Regions from separate parts of the Homo sapiens genome. Here regions 2 and 3 are each linked to region 1. Evidence: promoter capture Hi-C in 16 types of primary human blood cells and fetal thymus (Javierre and others, 2016). All regions are on one chromosome and are shown on one strand. The core of a region is centred on a gene start or on the middle of the fragment in contact, and the rest is flanking DNA. Distances in the headings are between cores, read along the strand shown.

What was found. The method cuts DNA at HindIII sites, captures the fragments that hold promoters and counts their contacts. A CHiCAGO score of 5 or more calls a contact.
Region 2: a contact is called between the fragment with the promoter of ZNF615 here and the fragment with the promoter of ZNF468 in region 1, in 9 of 17 cell types (neutrophils, naive CD4 T cells, total B cells and 6 more). The highest score is 13.5, in neutrophils.
Region 3: the fragment with the promoter of ZNF350 here is called in contact with the fragment with the promoter of ZNF468 in region 1 in 12 of 17 cell types (total CD4 T cells, naive CD8 T cells, naive B cells and 9 more); the score reaches 16.3 in total CD4 T cells.

Annotation. Positions count from the first base shown.
Region 1 is chr19:52,856,327-52,859,026 of GRCh38, forward strand. It overlaps ZNF468 (zinc finger protein 468), which reads right to left and starts at 1,293. Exons shown (of 4, transcript NM_001008801.2): 1 at 1,246-1,293. RefSeq lists an enhancer at 892-971. The HindIII fragment of the contact is 10,660 bases long and covers 1-2,700 here.
Region 2 is chr19:52,006,944-52,009,643 of GRCh38, forward strand. It overlaps ZNF615 (zinc finger protein 615), which reads right to left and starts at 1,268. Exons shown (of 7, transcript NM_001199324.2): 1 at 1,198-1,268; 2 at 350-387. LOC124904755 (a long non-coding RNA gene) reads left to right here and starts at 1,355. Exons shown (of 2, transcript XR_007067321.1): 1 at 1,355-1,536. RefSeq lists enhancers at 1,029-1,638, 1,699-1,778. The HindIII fragment of the contact is 6,775 bases long and covers 1-2,700 here.
Region 3 is chr19:51,985,550-51,988,249 of GRCh38, forward strand. ZNF350 (zinc finger protein 350) reads right to left here and starts at 1,291. Exons shown (of 5, transcript NM_021632.4): 1 at 1,221-1,291. RefSeq lists enhancers at 756-1,631, 1,218-1,457. The HindIII fragment of the contact is 6,623 bases long and covers 756-2,700 here.

The DNA of each region.
Region 1 (2,700 bases), core at 43-2,542:
CCTGGCCAACATGGTGAAACCCTATCTCTACTAGAAATACAAAAATTAGCTGGGCTCCATCCTTGCAACTTATTTAACCTCCTGTTGGTCCTTCTCCCCAATCTTTAGATCGTCCTCAATCTCCATAGATTTCTGCCTCTTCTCCCATCTATGCGCCTCCTCTGCTCTCCCTGTTAAATTCTCTCTTCTCTGTTATAACCCCCTGGACCCAATCTGGCACCCCAGATCCCCAGGTGTCCTCCCCGCTGTGCTTCTCCCTCTGTTCTCCTTGCCACCAGCACCACTCTGCTCTGTCTGACCCGGCTCCACATCCCTCCTCCTCTCCCTCACTCTGATGAGCCTCCACATTTCTGCCCCTCTCCCTACCTTGCTGTCCTTCATCTCTCTGTACATCTAGCTTTTCTCTACATTTCTCCAGTTGCTTTTCTCCTCCTGCTTTCTTATCTTTTATCACTTTTGCTGTCTCTTGGCAAATCCCTCACCCATCCTCTACTTTGCCATCTGTTATGGGTCTTTCTCATTCTTCTTTTCTCTGTCTCAGGTTTTCTACTGCTCTCTCAGTCCCTCTCTCTGTCTCCTGATCCCTTTGGCCCACACGATCACAAGAGGGTTTGGAGTAAGACGCCTGCATCTCGGAGAAGCGCATTTTCCAAGTGCTGGAGCTGGGCGGGCAAGAACACCCCGCGTCACAGGACAAGCCCCAGGCACCTCTCCAACGAGGGCTCAGGGGACGCGGTGACTGCGGAGGGGAGATCTGGGGAGCAGCAGGGCCCAGCAAGAGGAGGAGGGAGGTGGGGAGCGACGACGCCTTCGGACAAGGGTGGGATCCGCAGGATCCCAGGACCACAGAACGCAGCCTTCCCGGGACTGGGGTCGCCGCGCTGTGCTCCAGGAACCCAGGAGAGTAAGGCTGGGAGGCGCACAGGGTGGGAATACACCTCTAGGGTGAGGACTTTAAAAAGAGCCGTGCGGAAGGAGTCAAAAAACGGTTTTGAGCAGGAAAACTACGCGATAGGAAACGTATACATTGCCCTATGGCAGAAAGACCCGGGACGGGACCAGCCTCAGGGCGACTTTAAACCTAAAAAGAAGGGGCTTCCGGACTCCCAGTAGAACATCTCCATTTGCTCTGAGTGAAGGAAGAAAGGCGAGAACTTCCAGGTCTATGGGGACCCCACATCCCATGTACAGAAGTGCCGGGGACCTGGGAAGCTCAGACTTAACACCACACAGAGCAAAACTCACCGCCCGCCGCGGCGTGACCGTCATTCCACGGGATCCACTTCCTGGTCTGCGCGAATCTGCGCGCGCAGGACAGAAACCAGGCCTGGGTGGAGCCAACGAGGAGGCGAGCGGGGCCCGGGTGAGGTGTGGGCGGGGCGCGAAGCGGCGAGACCTTGCCCTTTAGAACCCGCAGAGGGCGGGGCCGGAGCGGGACCTGTGCATCTCTCAGCCTCCTCCCAACCCGTTCTCCGGGTTTTGGCGGCGAGAGCCCCCAGGAAGGCAGACGGATAATTCAAAAGCCCTGGAATAGTCTGGAAGGAGGATGCAAACTAGAATGTAAAATGCAAAGCCCTTTCTGGGCGGAACGTAGGATTTCATGCTGATGGCCCACAGGACAGTATAGAAATCTTCTCCCTTTCTATTCTCCATTCACTCAGGAGGGAGAGTCCACCCAGTGCTCAGCTTCAGAGACATCCCTAGGGCCACAGCCTGGGATGCCAGACGGAGTGCTCAGGCCAGGGAGGAGTGAGGTCACCACCTGCTGCTTAAACACAGCAGGGATGCGGGCGTGGGAGCCTGAGGTCCCAGCTACTCAGGAAGCAGCGGCGGGAGGATCGCTCAGCCTGGGGGTCCAGGACAGCCTGCGCGACAATGTAACATTCCCTCCCGCAGTCTCTCTCTTTTTTAAATTTTTAAAATAAAATTTTTATTAGGCCGGGCACGGTGACTCACGCCTGTAATCCCAGCACTTTGGGAGGCTGAGGCGGGCGGATCACGAGGTCAGGAGATCGCGACCATCCTGGCTTACACGATGAAACCCCGTCTCCACTAAAAATACAAAAATTAGCCGGGCGTGGTGGCGGGCGCCTGTAGTCCCAGCTACTCAGGAGGCTGAGGCAGGAGAATGCGGTGAACATGGGAGGTGGAGCTTGCAGTGGGCCGAGACCGAGCCACTGCACTCCAGCCTGGGCGACAGAGCCAGACTCCCTCTCTAAAAATAAATAAACAAACTAAATTTGCTTGTGTGAGATAGGAATACAACATTACTCTTCTCCATATGGATATCCAGTTAGTTGTCCCAGCACATTTGTAAAAGAGATCTGTTACTTTCTCCTTTTTATTTACATTTTTTCTTTTTCTTCTTCTTCTTCTTTTTTTTTTTTTTTTTGAGACTGAGTATTTCTCTGTCGCCCAGGCTGGAGTACAATGGTGACATCTCGGCTCACTGCAGCCTCTGCCTCCTGGGTTGAAGCGATTCTTCTGCCTCAGCCTCCGGAGTAGCTGGCATTACAGGCACACCCACCATGCCCGGCTAATTTTTGTATTTTGGGTACAGACGGGGTTTCATCATGTTGGACAGGCTGGTCTCGAACTCCTGACTTCAAGTGATCCGCCTGCCTCGGCCTCCCGAAGTTCTGGGATTACAGGCGTGAGCCACTGTGCCTGGCCCAAGAAATACTCTTTACTTCGCTTTTT
Region 2 (2,700 bases), core at 18-2,517, 850 kb before region 1:
ACTGCAATAAAAGTAATAGTCTAGATTGAAGATTAAAGGCAGGAAAAACAAAATTCATGGATAAATGGATAATCATAAAATGTTCCTAAAAATAATACCTAAACATTTTAAAACATTTCACTTCTATCCAAATGTACGCATAAACTTAATGTGAATGCACTTATAGTACCACCGGCTCAAACAGTAAAAACAACTTCTAAATGTTTATTACATAATATAAAGCGAAAAAGATAATAGTACCATTTACATAATTTATCTGAATTATGAATATTAAGCACATAACATACACGTCTAAAATTGAAATATTCTGAAAATTTGACAAAGGTTATCTTTGAGTAACCGAGCTTACCATGGCAGAGATGTTATCTTACTTGTGTCAGAAAGAACCTGAAAAGAAATATCCAAGAGGATACGCTGGAAACTTGCAGGACAAAGGGTAGAAGCCGCATCTTAAATATAAAACATACTACTTTTAGGTATGCTAGATGACTGATCTCGCCAAAAACTTCCATTTCTGAGGATTCAAGACCAAGGGGTGATGGAAGGTGCCAAAGGGGATTTAAAAACCAGTCGTGGAGAAGGGTCTTGGGCAGAAGGGGAATGCTAATGAGCATCAATTCTGTTCCAGCAGCCAGGGCTGGGGCTAACCCATCACCTGCCATGGTTCCCAGGCCTCCAGAGCTGCAGCCCACATCGGAATCTGTGGCGCTACCACCACCGCCACCGGGATTAATTCCAAAACCTGGATCAGAAACCTCCGTACCTTAACCCCCAAGACAGTTCCTCAATCATTTAGTCCCAAACAAAACCTGAACCATAAACCGATTCGCTGACAAAACAAACCCTCCAGTTCGCAATCACTGAGCCCCGCCAAAGGACAACACCAAAGACACCAGAATGTGACTTGGGCACTCAGTAGCGGATCTCTAGAGATCTTTAACCACAAACTACACGAGGACCCTGTGACTGGTCCCAGAGGTACCCCGATCACACACACACACACCCTATCACGGACCTCTTGTAGTTCCCCTGCGATAGGAATCGGACCCACGCTAAGCTCCTGAAAGAATTCCACTGGCGTCGCCAAACGCTGGCGCCGACAGATACCAGTCCATCACCACTGTCCACGAACACGCCCAGCCACGGACAGAATTTCCTCCCCCGTCACCACAGCGACCACCCAGTGACTGAACTTACTTCCCAGAACTTGGTGGGCTCCGGCCTCATCTCTCGGCCTCCTCAGTGCCTGACGGCGACTATCCAGGGTCGGAGGCGTTCCCAGCGTTTGCGCAGATGCAAGATGGCCGCGCCCTCGTCGCCTTGGCTCCATGGGGGCCGCCATCTTTGAGTATCTGACGTACACAAGGCAAAGGGCGCGTTTTGGCGCTGGTGACCGGGGGTGACCGGGGGTGACCGGGGATGGCCGGGAAGATGAAAGAGCACTGAAACTGTCCCATTTCCTGGCACCTCAACCCTTCATAAATACGGGTCCATATACAGAGGCTCCAGTTTACACAAGACAAAAATGGCGTGGAGGTAAATCCCTTTCAGCAGCTGAATAGAAGGCTAAGATGGCCGCGACGTTTACACTTTGTACAAAGGTTAGGAAACAGTTCCTTGTGAGGGAAAAGGAGAACCGGCCGAGAGGGGACACTTCGGCCAAAGCCAGATTTCTAACAAAGTAGCTTGAAGCGCCTTTTGAACGCAGAAGAGGGCTGTTAGCTACGCTGACGGAACAGGGGTAGCAGTCACAGACTAGGTAATGAAAACGGTTGGAACGTGCCAAAATTATGTTGGGTGAAAGGCATGGGGAAAAGCCAGTAAAAGCCAGAAAGTATAGTTCCCAAGGCGGAGGGGAGAGCCTGGGACCCAGGTGGAGCCAAATATGAGGGCTGGACTCAGGAGAAGTGGCCAGAAATTAAGGGAACAGGACCACTTCAGTGAGAAAAAAAAGGTTGGGAAAGAGGCCGGGCGCGGTGGCTCACGCCTGTAATCCCAGCACTTTGGGAGGCCGAGGTGGGCGGATCACCTGAGAGCGGGAGTTCGAGACCAGCCTGACCAACATGGAGAAACCCTGTCTCTACTAAAAATACAAAATTAGCCAGGCATGGTGGCGCATGCCTGTAATCCCAGCTACTCGGGAGGCTGAGGCAGGAGAATCGCTTGAACCCGGGAGGCGGAGGTTGCTGTGGGCCAAGATGGCGTCATTGCACTCCAGCCTGGGCAACAGGAGCAAAACTCCATCTCAAAAAAAAAACAAAAGAAAGAAAGGTTAAGAAGGAGATCACGTTATACTACGTGTGCCAACCGCGAATAGTATGTGCAAAGTCATGGCAATGCTGAACTGTAAATATAAATCCAACCAAACTTCCTATATTAGAAGAATGAGAGAAAGGAAATGCCTGTGTGAATCTATGTGTGTGATATAGGTATCAGTATATAAATATACAGAGAAATTGTCAAACTATTTTTCAGAGTCAAGTTCGTGTTCCATTTGCTCTTCTCACCCTTGGTATATGAGAGTTTTTCTTTTTTTTTGTTTTTTTTTTGTCTCTTTTTGAGGCAAGGTCCACTCTGTTGCCCAGTCTGGAGTGCCTGGGGAGATCACAGCTCACTGTAACTTGGAACTCCTGGGCTCCTGAATAGCTGGGACTACAGGTGGGCACCACCACACCTGGCTAATTTTTTAATTTTCTGTAG
Region 3 (2,700 bases), core at 41-2,540, 870 kb before region 1:
ACTAGCAATGGCAATTGGAACCAGCAAGATTGGCTAAGACCAACAAGGCCTTACTAAGAAACTGGGATTTGGGTCGCCTTGCCACAGGGATGAATACTTCACGAAATGGAGATTCTGTTAAGAAAGTGTGAATATAAGGCGGGCAAGCAACACTCACTATATATTAAGAAGTGAAGGCCGGGCGCGGTGGCTCACGCCTGTAATCCCAGCACTTTGGAAAGCCAAGGTGGGCGGATCACCTGAGGTCAGGAGTTCGAGACCAACCTGCCCAACGTGGTAAAACCCTGTCTCTACTAAAAATACAAAAACTAGCCGGGCGTGGTGGCGTGGGCCTGTAGTCCCAGCTACTCAGGAGGCTGAGGCAGGAGAATCGCTTGAACCCGGGAGGCGGAGATTGCAGTGAGCCGAGATCGCGCCATTGCACTCCAGTCTGGGAGACAAAAGTGAAACTCCGTCTCAAAAAATAAAAAAAATAAATAAAAAATAAAAGAAGTGAATGCAGAGGTTGGCAACATTTTCGATTTTGCCGGCCACGAGGTCTCTGTCACAACAACTCAACCGCTGCCTTTGCAGCCATAGACAATATATAATCGGAGGGTATGACTGAACTTGACCCCCCGATCTGTAAATAGCCACCCCAAGGATCAGAAGAGTAGATATATGGTTTCGAACTAATGCTGGGGGCTGTGTCGCCTTTTGCCCCAGTAACCGAGGTTCGAACCTCAACCCAGGACCCAGGGCTCCAAAGTCTCGAAAGCTTCAGCCCTCACAAGCCTTTGTACCACAGACACTGGCCCCATGCCTCTTACTCATCCGAACCACGGACCAGACACTCTACAGCGATGGACATCCTCCCAGACTCCAACATCACTGAGTTCCAAATTAAATCCTGAACCCGAAGCAGACGCCGCATCGATCCTAATCGCCACCTCCATCCTTTACAAGCAGAGTGATCCATACCTTGACAGTTAGGACACGGCCGTTGATCACTACAGACCCTTAGTCACTGTACTCACACCAAAGGCACGCGGACCACAGACAGGGGGATCACAGACTCCCACCAGGTACCTCCCAAATGCCTATACCCCGGCGCTCCCCAGTCTTCCTGCCAAAAACTATGTGGTCCAGGGTACACCACGTCCTCAGATCTCCCAAACCTTCCACTGAGACAAAACCTGAACTAGGACAAAAAACTTTCAGGGACAAAACCACACACTGACCTCTATTTTCTCCAGATACACAAGAAGGGCCTCAACGTTACACTTCCGTAAACTGCTCCTACTTCTGGAGTCCTCGCACGGGTTTATGGTCCACCTACGGCGGCCGAGGAGAACCTAAAATGTTTAAAAGAGCAAGGACAAGCGCATTTACGGCATTTCCTACTCTGTAAAATGGCCGCGCCCATAGCCGTGGCTCCTGACGGCAGCCATGTTTGAAAATTGGACGCACAGAAGGCAGTGGCAGGTTTTTGAGCCAGGAGCCAGGGAAGAAGAGAAGTCACTGAAATCGCCTCGTTTCCTGGCACTTAAAGTCTTGCGAAAGGGGGCAGATTTTCAGAGACTCAGGCTTTATCAGGCAAATATGGGGCAAGCTAAATTGCCTTTAGCGCTTTTCCATCCACTTTGTTAAATTTAAAAAAAAAGGTTTTGAAAAAGACAAGTAACAGTGCAGCCAGGTGTAGGTATCCCAGAGAATGAATTGGAAATGGAAAAGGTAACAGATCAGGTAGAAAGGGAAAAGGCAACACATCAGGTAGGCAGACACCCACGGGAAAGCGTCTGGCGAAAATTAGCTTGCAGGAAGCGGTTTTTAAGAACAGAAAAATAGCAGGTATTCGGGGGGGCGGGTGGTGAAGAAAGAAAAAAATTATAATTTTTTTTGAGACGGAGTCTTGCTCTGTCGCCAGGCTGGAGTGCAGTGGCGAGATCTGGGCTCACTGCAACCTCTGCCTCCCTGGTTCAAGCGATTCTCCTGCCTTAGCCTCCCAAGTAGCTGGGACTACAGGCACGCGCCACCACGCCCAGCTAATTTTTGTATTTTTAGTAGAGACTGGCTTTCACCATGTTGGCCAAGATGATCTCGACCTCCTGACCTCGTGATCTGCCTGTCTCGGCCTCCCAAAGTGCTGGGATTACAGGTGTGAGCCACCGCGCCTGGCCTCGAAAAAATGATTATTATTTACAAAAAAGAAGAAGAAGAAGGAGGAAGAGGAGGAGGAGAAGGAAGAGAAAAGAGGAGAAAAGAAGAGAAAAGAGGAGAGGAGAGGAGAGAAAAGAGATTTTGAGAATGAATTACGATGTGAGCCTGGCCACGACAGACTAAAGGAATTGGGCCTCCTAGAAAGGCCACTTTTAGTAAAGGTGCCAATGGGAAGAGCAGAGCCAGAATTGAGAGTATAAAAATATTGTTAAGAGTTTTTGACAAAAGTGCCAAGACAATTCAATAAGAATAGTCTTTTCAACAAGCGGCACTGGGATAATTGGATATCCACATCCAGAAAAATGAGTTAGGACCCTCAAACCATACACAAAAGTTAACTCAAAATAGATCATAGATCTAAGTTTAAGAGAAAGTATAAAACTTAGAGAAGGAAAAGGGAGATAATCCTCATGGACGTGAGTTAATTCTGAGAGGAGAGTAAAGGATGACCCACAAAACAAAATAAAATTAATAAAGTGGACTTGATTTTTTTTTAAGTTT